2 separate regions of the Homo sapiens genome follow, and region 1 is linked to region 2. Evidence: promoter capture Hi-C in 16 types of primary human blood cells and fetal thymus (Javierre and others, 2016). All regions are on one chromosome and are shown on one strand. The core of a region is centred on a gene start or on the middle of the fragment in contact, and the rest is flanking DNA. Distances in the headings are between cores, read along the strand shown. Region 1 overlaps SLC4A10 (solute carrier family 4 member 10). Region 2 holds the start of TBR1 (T-box brain transcription factor 1).

Region 1 (5,847 bases), core at 2,506-5,005, 570 kb after region 2:
GGTCCTGAATCATGTTCTCATGTTAGACCAACAGCTCTCCAATTGTCATTTTTTTTCTGCAGAGTTTTTTTTTTCCACTTTTAAATTAAATGCATGTTGTGGAAAAACAGTCTTTTAAAATGAAATTTCAGATTCCATTTGAGAAGGTTCTGTAGATATTTCAGTCCATATAAAATAATACATCTTTACTAAACTTATATAAGGGGAGAGAAAGTTATGAAGTTTTGGACATTACTAAAAGTACAGTATTTGATTTCACTTTCAATGAATGTGAAGTTAATAAAACTAAATCTCATAATGCTCTTGGTTCCTAAGAATGAGTAGTAATCATCAACTTTATAATACTCCAATATTCCGTTTTATAATAATTCAGAGCCCTGTGGCTTTTACACACCGTTAATTATGTACTCTGTTGGAAGTGCACATGAAAAGTGAAGAAAAGTTCCTCTTGTGATTAAACTAATGGGAGGAAATAAATCAACAAAGTCTCCATTAAGTTCTACATTTTGAGACCTTTTAAAAATTCCCCTCACAATTCTTTAAGGAGCCCCCCTTTTTATGGAACATGAGCCTAAAAATTATAGAAAGAAGAATTTTAAGTTAATAAAGTTTGTATTTATAAATGCTGAAAAAATACAGAAACTTTCTGTTCCAAATGTGTTGCCTTTGTGTATTTTATAATACAGATACTACATTGTAAACATTTCCATTGTTTTATGATTTAGCCAGTGATTCCCCAAAGCAGCCTCTTAGTGTTTTAATATATTAATAACTGTTTTGTTAAAAATGATCATAGTGAATTTAAATCTTCACATGATCACCTATTTGAATAAGCAATCATATCCAATGAAATTCTGTATTTCTGAGTATTTTTATAGTCATTTTGTTCTTGTGTGAATTTTAAAGCTATCCCTATGTTAATCCTAATATTTTGAAATCATATAAAATATAATAAAAATGTAGTATTATATATTTACTTCTAATTTCAGATTCCTGGTCAAAATTACTAAATATCTTGAATGTAATTTAGTGCCAAGTTTAAATAATGTGTAAATGTGACTAGGATATTGTGTTTTTCACAATTAAGAAATGTTATGTGGAAATAAATATTTATCCTAACTTCCTTGCACATTTTAAATTGTGATACAAAGTGTCTTGTCTTTTTTCTTTGTTTTAATTAGTAAATCAGTGTAAAACATTTTGATTGTTTGAATATAATATTTAAATTTAGACAGCCCCAAAGCTAAGAACTCTTGGTGATGTAAACAATTTATGAGTATGTTTCAAGAGTAAACAATTTGAACTTTATGAACAGAAGATTATGAGAACTATATAAAGATATATTTACTCATTTTTCCAGAAATGGGTGCAGATGACACGGTTTCTTATGCTAGGAAAAACCTCCAAGGTCGTTAGTAGTAGTATTCCTCATTATTAGAACTCTATTTAGACTTCCGTTTTTAACTTCCATGGGGAAAGCATTGCCTAAAATTTGTCTCCTCCCTGTTTCTTACAAAAGTCAGATGGGACCATTATTCTTTGGTAGCCATCTGGCAGTGTGTTGTGGAGATAATTGCATTCAGAATTCTATCTAACCTACTGCTTGGTATTTTTCTCTTGACTAGTGAGTTTACTTTGTAATTGCTCCTGTTTCACAGCCTACAATATTGGAAAGTTTTTTTCCTGTATAATATAATATAGGAATATATATATTCCTATGTATGTATAGGATATCCTATATATCCTGTATAGATGAATGTCTCCTTGGTATAGTTTAAACCCGAGTTTGAAAGAAACTCTCCACTGATGATCCAAAAGCAACTTGTATTTCAACATGATTCCTAGATCTTTTTGGATTTTTCTTGACTCTTAGAAGTGTGACTTACCTGTTTTCTATGGCACTGACCTACCTCTGTTTTGGTTTAACTTTAGCCTATTAGCTCCTGGGCACTTGTCTATTTTACTATCATTGCAAGATTGCTCTCTCATTTTTCCAATATATTAATATCTATCTCATATATTCACACAATGAAATGAAATGAGATTACATCCATTTGAAAGTTTTATGAGAGTCATTTGGATAATATGATGGTTCTCTAAATGTCTACATCAAGAGGCTAATTGTAGTTAGTCCCCTTGAAGAGGCTTAATAATCAAAGATTACTGGTAATACTTTATTTTAGAGATCTCCTTCGATGTTCTTCATGGAATGCTGTGGCTAACTGATACAACTGTCACACCAATTCCGTTCCTGTTGGTGTACTGGGTACTATCATTTCTGCTGGAACTTTGAAAATAGGACTATGATCCTTGCTTCTAAGGGCAGGGTGGATACATAGCTGTAAATAATGTGATATGTGCTGAGTTGGCCATATGAGTAAAGCCATTTTTTGAATAGGGCAGAGTTTGACGAAAACATTATAGTAGAGGTAGCATGTGAATTAGAATGGAAATGGGGAAGGAAATGTACTCCAGATGTTGAAGGAACCCCTGCCTACTAGGCCTCTGGTCTAATGAAGTATGACCAGAATGACTCCATCTTGAAGTGAAGAGCTAGAACACTCTTAAGGCACCTATAAGATTAATGCTTGTGGTCTGAAAATAGCCACTTTCCAAGCTGGCTACAACCTATTATTACAGAATATTTATGACCATACAGAGCATCTCCCACCATGCCTGCAGAATGTCCCTATGTCCTAAGAATTCAGCCCTCCTTACTTAGAGATAACGTTAATGAACAAGCTTAGGTTAAAAGATTAAGGGTCATGTAATATCAATGACACTGAAGGCCCCTGCCTTTAGTGAGCACATAGACACATTCCAAGTTTAATTGTAGCTCTTTGTAACTCCTTATAAAAGTAGAGGCGCTAACAAAGGACAGGGCATTCCTCCTTTTGCTTTCAGAGGATATCCCACACTGTAACGAAACGGTTTCTGAAAAACTTACTTCTTCCACTATGCTCTGTGGCTTTCCTTGAATTCTCTCCTTTGCAAGATCCAAGGACCCATTTTTGGGGTCTGGATCAGGACCCCTTTTCCAGCAACACCGGAACTACAAAGATTCTCAAACCTATGTCGGTATTGAAATAAAGATGAAATTTAAAAGTAAAGCTATATGGCATAACTAGAGCCTGGCATATTTTATGTATGGCATATTTGGAACCCAGCAAACAGCCCAATATGGTGGAGTGTTAGAAGGGTAGTGAAGACTTGTAGGAAAAGACAGAAACACAAGTCAGAGACATTACAAATGATGTTAAATTCTATCCTAGAACTGTTGGAATTTTACCCATTAAAAGTTTTGAGTAATGAATTTTGAAATGATTAATAGAGCAGCACAGTAGAGAATATAGTGGGGAAACAGTGGAATTGCCTCCTCAGGGATCTCCCTTCCAGGATGACTCTCAGATGACAAAACTAAGTTTTCATGATCTATAAATTTCTATTAGGATAGAAACGAAACAGGCTCAAGTATACTCCTTAGGTACCTAACCCGTAACTCTAGACACAATAGCTTAATTATAATTACTTTTATGTAGTGCATTCCCTTATATATGGAGATTTTATATATATATATATATATATATATATATATATATATATATATATATATATCTTCATAACAATGCAACAGTTCTGTAAGGTAGGTCTTTTTGTACTTTTTACAAATTAAGACACTGGAGTTCAAAGAGCCTAAGTATTGTTCTTTATATATATATATATATATAGCACATATTTGTGTATATAGTTACATTTGAAAAAAAAAAGTGTTCTGAAAAGCACAGTGTCCACAGCAAGCCTGAGACTGTTAAAGAAACCTAAGTGTGGTGCACAGTTCAGACAATGACTGCTTCATAATAATCCAGAAACCACCTTCTCTCCGCCCAGCCTTGAATCCTACCCTACATTCTTACCCTGGATTCAGTTTTCTGTCTGGATCCTCTTGCCTTCCGGTGTGTGTAGAGTTAAATATTTTTTTCATGTGACTTCTTTTTTCCATTTATTTATAAACTCCTTGAAGGTAGGGATGGTGTTTGGTGTTTTGCCCCTCTTTTGTAACTCTCCAGAGCCCAGATCTGTGCTCTGCTGTTTACCCAGCCAGCAAAGGCTCTTGATATAATAAGTAAAATATACCAGAAGATCCTGCTGCTCAGTTTATTAAGAATGATTAAAAGTCCAAAAAGAATTGTCACGGACATGTCAGTATTGGAACACAGCAAATGCTTAATGAGTACCTTCAAGTGCCCAGCACCTGAGGACACAGAAGACTAAGGCAAGAATCTGTGTAATCTATGGAGCCATTAAGAAGCAGCTACATGGTTGTGACTAGAAGGAGGGAAAAGGTGAAAGGAAGGTGTCAGGCATTGTATCTATGTAAATCTTCAGAGCAATGCAACCAGTTCTGTAAGGTAGGTCTTTTTGTACTTTTTACAAATTAAGACACTGGAGTTCAAAGAGGCTAAGTATTGTTCTTTAAATGTTCCCCATTAGTGAGTTGGTGGTACTGAGACTCTAACCCAGGTCCAACTGACCTCAGCTGCAGGGCACTGTGTCTCCAGCAGGAGGTGAGATGTGACCGCCTTCCTCCTTATCAGGTTATTCATTCTGGCTCATGGAACCAGAATCAGGTTATGATGATTAATATTTCTGCTTAATATGTTACATTTTCTTTGCCACCAATCTTTCTGTTATTAACACTGGAAACCAAACTTACCCAGTGAAACACCTTTTTTGCTCATGAGTCACAAATATCAGGACCTTGGATAGAAGAAGCTTAAAAAATAAAAAGGGTTTTTGATTGTTGGATGGTCACACTTCACACCACACTCACACATGCTTTTTAAATAATTTGAAGAGTGGGTTCAGATGAAAGACTATATAGAATAAGAATTTTTATCGAGTTTGTTGAGGCTTAAAGCCTGTAAGCACCAAAAAAAAAAGTTTTCTCTCAATTAAGGAAGTTAACTATTAATTCAAATTCTTGGGTGTAAATGTTAATATTGTCACAGAAAGAAGACTGTGCAGAAAGATGATACATTTCTATGGGCCATAATATTGGTCCATTCATACCATGCTCTGAGCTTTCCTCATGGGATAGTGATGTTATACTTTGTTTATGTATTTATTTATTTATTTTGAGATGGAGTCTCGCTCTGTCACCCAGGCTGGAGTGCAATGGCGCGATCTCTGCTAACTGCAACCTCCGACTCCCGGGTTCAAGTGATTCTCCTGTCTCAGACTCCCGAGTAGCTGGGATTACAGGAGCACACCACCATGCCTGGCTACTTTTTTGTATTTCAATAAAGACGGGGTTTCACCGTGTTACCCAGGCTGGTCTCGAACTGGGCTCAGGCAATCCACCCCGCTTGGCCTCCCAAAGTGCTATGATTACAGGTGTGAGCCGCCACCATGCCTGGCTGTGATGTTATACTTTATAACCCACACTTGTCTATTATTCTCAACCATCTGTATCCCTCAGACATCCTGAATACACACTCTAGGTCACTCAGGATGTACACAAAAGAGTTCTTGGACGCTGCTGAAATAACTGCCACAGAGTTGGCCAACAAAATCCTCTTACTTTATGGAAAAAAGTCATGCTTATGTTTTGTTGTGTTTTCTATTTAGAGTTTATTGAATCATAAATATTGTACAAATCTAGTAGTCTTATAAATCAGTATTCTCACATCAACTTCGAGCAAAAGTAGCAAATGCCAAGAAGTGGAACTGGTAGCCTCAGTGACTACCTGTGAATAAGAAAAGAAACAGAAAATATGCAGAATGTCACGAAGCCCAGTATGTTCATTAACTTTTATGGTAGTGGCTCTGAGTTATCAAGAATGCATT
Region 2 (6,557 bases), core at 3,707-6,206:
ATGACCTCAAATATTGTCCAGTGTTTAGCAGCTATGTTGGATACTGTCGTATTTAAATAAAGCAACGAAAAACGCTATTAATGATGCCTTCAGTGTATATTCCTCTGTTGTTCCTAATGCTCAAAATCAAGGGACCTCTGAAGGTGTACTTGGCTAAATGTAAGACATCTGGCATCATTTGCAGCACTGTAACACCTTCAGTCTCAGTTGTGCAATTACTTCTGTTTCTTTAGTCAGGGTCTTTGCAGATTCTAAAGTTATACATGAATACATCAAAGTGGACAAATTTTGTTAAGATCCCATTTAATATTTGAAAAAATCAGTAGCACAAATATATTTTGATTGTCACTTACAAAATAAAATACATTTACAGTCTATGCCTCCTGAGATCTTTTTGGCAATGGGTGGGATTGATGGAATAACATTTGACAGTGGTCTAGAAATCTCACACAAAGATATGTTTCCGTTTGCATTTTAAGATCTTACAACACATAAAACATCAGTGTGATAAAACTTCACAGATGTATAATGATTTCCATTAATGAGTGGCTACCTAATTAGTGAGTAACTCAGAAAAAATGTTGACATTTTATTAGCATTTGTCATAAGCTAAATATTGTATACTCACTATCTTATAAACATACTTTTAGGATTTTGGAAGAGTACATTTACAAAGAAAAGGGAGCAATTTTAATTTAGACTTTATCATGTTTTAAAAGAGTACATTTCTACCAACAGTTTTGAAACTGGGAATTGGCTGCTGCAAACTCTACTGGACTTTCATCTAAAATAGCCACAGAAAGTATATGTCTAAAAAGCAAAATGAGAAAAGTAGTCATAATGTGAGTTTAATATAAGCTTATAAGCAATAATTTTGCTATTGTTTGGTCTCATCTTTTCTAAATTAGGACTACCCAGTTTTCTAATAGAGAAAAAAAAATGGCTAATACCAACTTCTAATGTGATGTACAAAAGTAACTGCCCCTGTTATTACTTACGGTTCAGAACCATACTGATTATACCATTTGTATGGCAAAAGATACAGAGACAAAGATCTAATTCTAGTCTGCACCCTTGTGAAAATATGGTGAGAGTATTACTGTAGCTTCATTAAAGGAATGTTTTACATGGACTTGCAATTTAACTTAACCTACTAGAACTGTTATGAGTGCTGTGATAGATCAAATTACTGTCCTACTGGAACAAGTCTAGGCTCTTATTGGTTCCCTAGTGAAGTTACCAGAAACTGAAAGTCAAAATGGCTTAAATTCCCAGTATGTTTCACAGTATCTTTTTTGGTGGAGTAAGAAGTATTCTGAGCATTTCTTGCTTGTCCTGTGGTTTACTGTTTCAGATATAGTGACAGTATATTTTATGTAGGACATGTAATATGTATTAATTTAAGTTGTTGGGATTACATTTAACCATTTAAAATTCAAATATAAGTGGAAGTTAGTGAAATTTTCTTTTGCCTAATTCAAACTTGTGTGCAGGCTTTTTGGATATGATTTTTCCCTTTGCAAATAAGATTCTATAACTTATTTCACAGATGTTGTTAATGAGTGCTAGTCAATGATTTTTTGGGGGGTACAGTGCCCTCAGAAGAAGGCCTTAACATTTCAAGAACTATTCTCAATATTTGGGTTGAAAGGGTTTTTTTGTTTTTGTTTTTGTTTTCTACTTAGTCCTCTGAAAATATCCTGAGTCCTGTGACTGGAAAGGCTTACCTTGCCTGTTTTTTTGCCCTTATTTGATCACCCCATCTTCCTGGACTCCCTATAGCCACACACCACTTACTCTCACTTAGTTCATGTTGGTGACATTCCCAGTTTCAGAACCTTGTCAAAATCTTTGCTAGCAAAAACCTACATTACTTTTTGTAGATTTGGAGTCGATCAAAATCAAGATGCCCTAAGAGGCAAGGCTCAGTGAACACCTTTGTCTTGGAATGTACAGCTATTTTCGCAGCAGCCTGATGTCCCAGGCCCAGTTAGGCACTGAAAAGATGCATTTAATCACAAACTTAGTAAGCTGTTTAAGACTGTATATGTATGCGCGCACATGTGCACGCAATTACCCCTCCATCATGCAGAGGTAAAGCAGCTCTGGAAACAAAACTGTTTGTCTCTAGTGCAGAAATGTCCCTGCTTTTCTCTCAGACTAATACGGGGGCACTGAAAGCTCCGGCCTCACTATTCAAAGTGTCATCTGCCTGGACCAATAGCATCTGGGTCTTATGGAAATTCGTTATATATACAGAAAGCAAGCCCCACCCCAGGCCTATTGAATCATAATAAAGAATCCTGGTGTGGTTCATATACACTTTAAGGTTTGAGAAGCCCTGGCCTTCTTTTAGAAGTACGGTTCACAGGCACATGTGGTGATTCTGAGGAAAGCCTTCATTTTCCTTAGTATATATAAATTCAAGGCATACCCTATATGTGAGCAATCACTGAATTTGGTACTGATAATCCAAAGTGGGTCAGAGAGCACATCAATTCAATTCCTTAAAAACTCTGAAGGAGGTGCACTCTTTCCCTTTTCTATCCTTTAACACCTTAACATTTCAATTTAGCATAAAAAAAAAACAGTTTAGGGTGTCGAGAATGGCAAAGCCTCAAAAAGAGCCCAGGTGATGTCTCACCTCTACACATTTAAGGCTCTGTCCCACTGAGAACGGAGGAAAGTACTGTCTTCCGAAGCACCGGAGGGAGAGGCACTCAGGGACAGAGAAGTTGAAGATGGAGAAAGAAGGAAACAAAAGTAGCCAAAAGTAGTCAAGAGGTCAAAAGCCTCTCATGAGGGCAAATGGCAGTAGAAGGTCAAGGGCAGAAAAACAAGTGTCAAATGGCATCCCCTACTCCCCTCCCCCGCACCCCAACGATTCAACAGCTAAGACTGCTTGTTTATGAAGCTTCCTGGCCAGGAGCTGAGGTTTGCTTTCGAAAGGAAAAATGGGTCTGGCTCTCTTTTTATCCCAGAAAATTGTCTCGGCTTTAGTCTGGGACATCTGGTCAACAACCTGCCCTGCCCAGGCCGCCAGCGCAGGGCCTTGCCCGCGGCGCGTTGATGGAGGCCGCAGCTGGTGCCCTCTGCAGCCAAGGCGCTCAGCCCGCCTGGAGGGGCGCAGTCTCGGCTCAGCGCTGACCGCTCGGCCCACCGAGGCGCAGCTCTGAAAATGCACCACAGTGGCGAAGCGGCGAGTCTGGATAACCCGTCTCCGCCCATGCTCAGGACCCACCCAATGTCCCCAGGCGCTGCTCTCACTCCGGGAGCTGCCCCGGCCCGGGTAGGACAGACGCGCTCGCTCGAAGCCAGAGGCTCCCCCGGCTGAGGTGCCCAGGCCGCTCCTCCAGCCCGGGAAGAGCGTGTGCCCCTGGGGTCTGCGCCAGACGCAGCTCACCCCTTGCTCCTTCAGTCTCCCGGGCGGAGCCCGCCCTCGGGCCGGCCAGCTCTCGGGGCCGAGCGGAGCTCTGGGCGGCGCTCCTCCTGCTCATTCCCGCGCGGCTCGGCGTCCGGGAGGAAAGCCGCGGGAGGGCAGGTCAGCGAGCGCCGGGCCGCGGGAGGCAGCTTTGGGCAGATAAAAAGCCTCTGCCGCTCTTGGCCCTCTGGCTCAGGCCGAGGGCTGGGCTCCTCTGTAGAGCCGGTGCTGGGAGACTTCCTCCCTACACCTCGGGGTCTCTTCGGGCCTCGTGCTATTTATTTGTGCCAACATCTTTTTAAATTGGTTTTTTTCTATTCCTCTTTAGATTCTTTTTCCTTTTAAAAATTATTGGCATGGATGCTTTTTCTCCCCTCCAGATTATATAAACATTAAACACACACACGTACACACACACACACGTTTTCAGTAGCGATTACTGTGTTGACACCACTTCCACTCTGTCTCCCCAGATCAGCGCTTCTGACGAGCCCATTTGCACGGGGACTCGGCCCTCTCTTTTCCTGGCGAGGCTTTTGAACCTGTCGCCAAGCCAGTACCTCAGAGAGAAGGAAATGCAGAGGGACGAGAAGGATGCATGGCGCCTGCCCCCAGTTAGATGTTCTTCAGATAATCTGCAACCAAGTGCGCTGATAAAATATTTAATAAAGAGCCGGTAAACATCACTGCAAATACATTAAGGCATTTCAGCCCGACAGCTTATGATTATTTCAAAACTTAAAAAGGAGATCATAGATTGTCACTGTTTCTGTACTCAACCAAGAAACCGAACCTTCCTGAGGTGGGTGGATTGGTGGGTGAGTTGCTGCTTTTCGCCCCCTCTCCTCCCCCCTTCTGCTTGTCGCTGTGGCTCTCAGCAGCAGGGATTTATTTATTTATGTTTGCAGTTTAAAAGGTGGGGGTGGGGGCGCCGAGGACATGTAGGATCTGCTCACAAAGCACCAGCTCAGGTGTTGTGTGCTTTTGTATTAGCTGGAAAAGACAGACTCTGGAACTTTTACAGGGCGAGAAGAGGCCACCGGCTCGCGCTTTGTATACTTTGCACTTGAAATCGTTACATTCAACTGAATATTTGGCTCATTCAGATCCGAAAAGTCTCCTAGCATCGTCGAATTCCCTCCTCCGCCCCTCCGCTCTAAAGGGGGGAAGGGGGGGAAGGTAGGAAATGTTTAGTAAATTCCACATCTTTGAATCTTCCTAAAGCAGTGGTCACAGAGCTTAAAGGTGACACAACAGTGCTCACGTAAACCAACACACATTCCCCACCCCCCAAGCCAACAATAAAATCATCCCCTTCAATTTGCCATGATCGTCGCTACCAGGAGCCAGGTGATTATCCTAATTAATGTCTATCTAATTAAATTACTGTCAGCAGCTAACCAATGGCAGGAGCCGTTTCATCGGCTGCACAAGCAGCAAGATCAAAAGTGAGCCTTTTCTGATTGCTGCATAGTGTCAATTGGCCAATCTCTTCTCCCAGGGAAAAAAAAAAGTAAATCAAACCTTTGAGAAGCATTTGCTGGTTGAAGTGCTTTCTGTCTAGTGAGGGGGTCTGTGGATTTCTAGTTTATGATAAATAGGACTTTAAAAACCAGGGACGGGAGGGCGAGTGTTCAGGTTCTAGAGCTATGCAGCTGGAGCACTGCCTTTCTCCTTCTATCATGCTCTCCAAGAAATTTCTCAATGTGAGCAGCAGCTACCCACATTCAGGCGGATCCGAGCTTGTCTTGCACGATCATCCCATTATCTCGACCACTGACAACCTGGAGAGAAGTTCACCTTTGAAAAAAATTACCAGGGGGATGACGAATCAGTCAGATACAGACAATTTTCCTGACTCCAAGGACTCACCAGGGGACGTCCAGAGAAGTAAACTCTCTCCTGTCTTGGACGGGGTCTCTGAGCTTCGTCACAGTTTCGATGGCTCTGCTGCAGATCGCTACCTCCTCTCTCAGTCCAGCCAGCCACAGTCTGCGGCCACTGCTCCCAGTGCCATGTTCCCGTACCCCGGCCAGCACGGACCGGCGCACCCCGCCTTCTCCATCGGCAGCCCTAGCCGCTACATGGCCCACCACCCGGTCATCACCAACGGAGCCTACAACAGCCTCCTGTCCAACTCCTCGCCGCAGGGATACCCCACGGCCGGCTACCCCTACCCACAGCAGTACGGCCACTCCTACCAAGGAGCTCCGTTCTACCAGTTCTCCTCCACCCAGCCGGGGCTGGTGCCCGGCAAAGCACAGGTGTACCTGTGCAACAGGCCCCTTTGGCTGAAATTTCACCGGCACCAAACGGAGATGATCATCACCAAACAGGGAAGGTAATACTACATTTTTGGCTGCCGCTGCTCTAGGCGCAGCCGGGGACAAGTGCACCTAGGCTGTGACTGCCGCGGCAGCGACGATTTGGGGTCGGGAGCGGAGTGGAAGGCGCCCTAGAGTTGGCTAGTTTTGGAAAGGGGGAAAGTGGAAGGGATAACCGCCAGGGTGATGTTGGTGGGGGGGACCCCGTTCTAGGAACATAGTGGGAGAGCCAGTCAGTGGCCAGAGGAAGGCAAGAAAAAGGAAGAGCCCTGGCCAGCGGCTGGGCGATGGGAGGGACGCATCAACACTGGCATGCACGGACAGGTGGAGACGCAGGTCGCCAACCTCGCTCTCCACCTGGGCAGTGATAACTGCCACCTTCCCACTCCAGCTCACCCGCCGCTCTCCCTGATTTGGGTTGCACTTCTTTTCTTCTCCCACCACCCTTTTTCTAATCCAGCAAATATTCGCCTATTTGCTGCAAGTACAAGTTTTGCTTTGCTAACTGGCGCCCCGCTTCTTGCATTTAATCTTTAACATTTATGTTTCTTTTTTCCTTGTTTTCTCCCCCCACCCCTTAATTTAAATAGGCGCATGTTTCCTTTTTTAAGTTTTAACATTTCTGGTCTCGATCCCACGGCTCATTACAATATTTTTGTGGATGTGATTTTGGCGGATCCCAATCACTGGAGGTTTCAAGGAGGCAAATGGGTTCCTTGCGGCAAAGCGGACACCAATGTGCAAGGCAAGTCCTTCCAATTAACACATTTTCTTGACACTTATTTAGGTGAGAATGATTAATTAAAGCCTTT

What was found. Contacts are between HindIII fragments. The CHiCAGO score rates a contact against its expected background, and 5 or more counts as called.
Region 1: a contact is called between a fragment that was not itself captured here and the fragment with the promoter of TBR1 in region 2, in 1 of 17 cell types (M1 macrophages). The highest score is 5.9, in M1 macrophages.

The regions. Positions count from the first base shown.
Region 1 is chr2:161,984,133-161,989,979 of GRCh38, forward strand. It overlaps SLC4A10 (solute carrier family 4 member 10), which reads left to right. Exons shown (of 27, transcript NM_001178015.2): 27 at 1-1,138. Among named protein-coding and RNA genes, the nearest start is that of DPP4, 87 kb to the right of the region's middle. The HindIII fragment of the contact is 2,031 bases long and covers 2,741-4,771 here.
Region 2 is chr2:161,411,341-161,417,897 of GRCh38, forward strand. TBR1 (T-box brain transcription factor 1) reads left to right here and starts at 4,957. Exons shown (of 6, transcript NM_006593.4): 1 at 4,957-5,762; 2 at 6,336-6,490. The coding sequence starts at 5,071. PSMD14 (proteasome 26S subunit, non-ATPase 14) reads left to right here. Exons shown (of 12, transcript NM_005805.6): 12 at 1-377. The coding sequence ends at 60. RefSeq lists enhancers at 3,172-3,321, 5,083-5,705 and silencers at 3,372-3,541, 3,612-3,661. The HindIII fragment of the contact is 4,993 bases long and covers 2,913-6,557 here.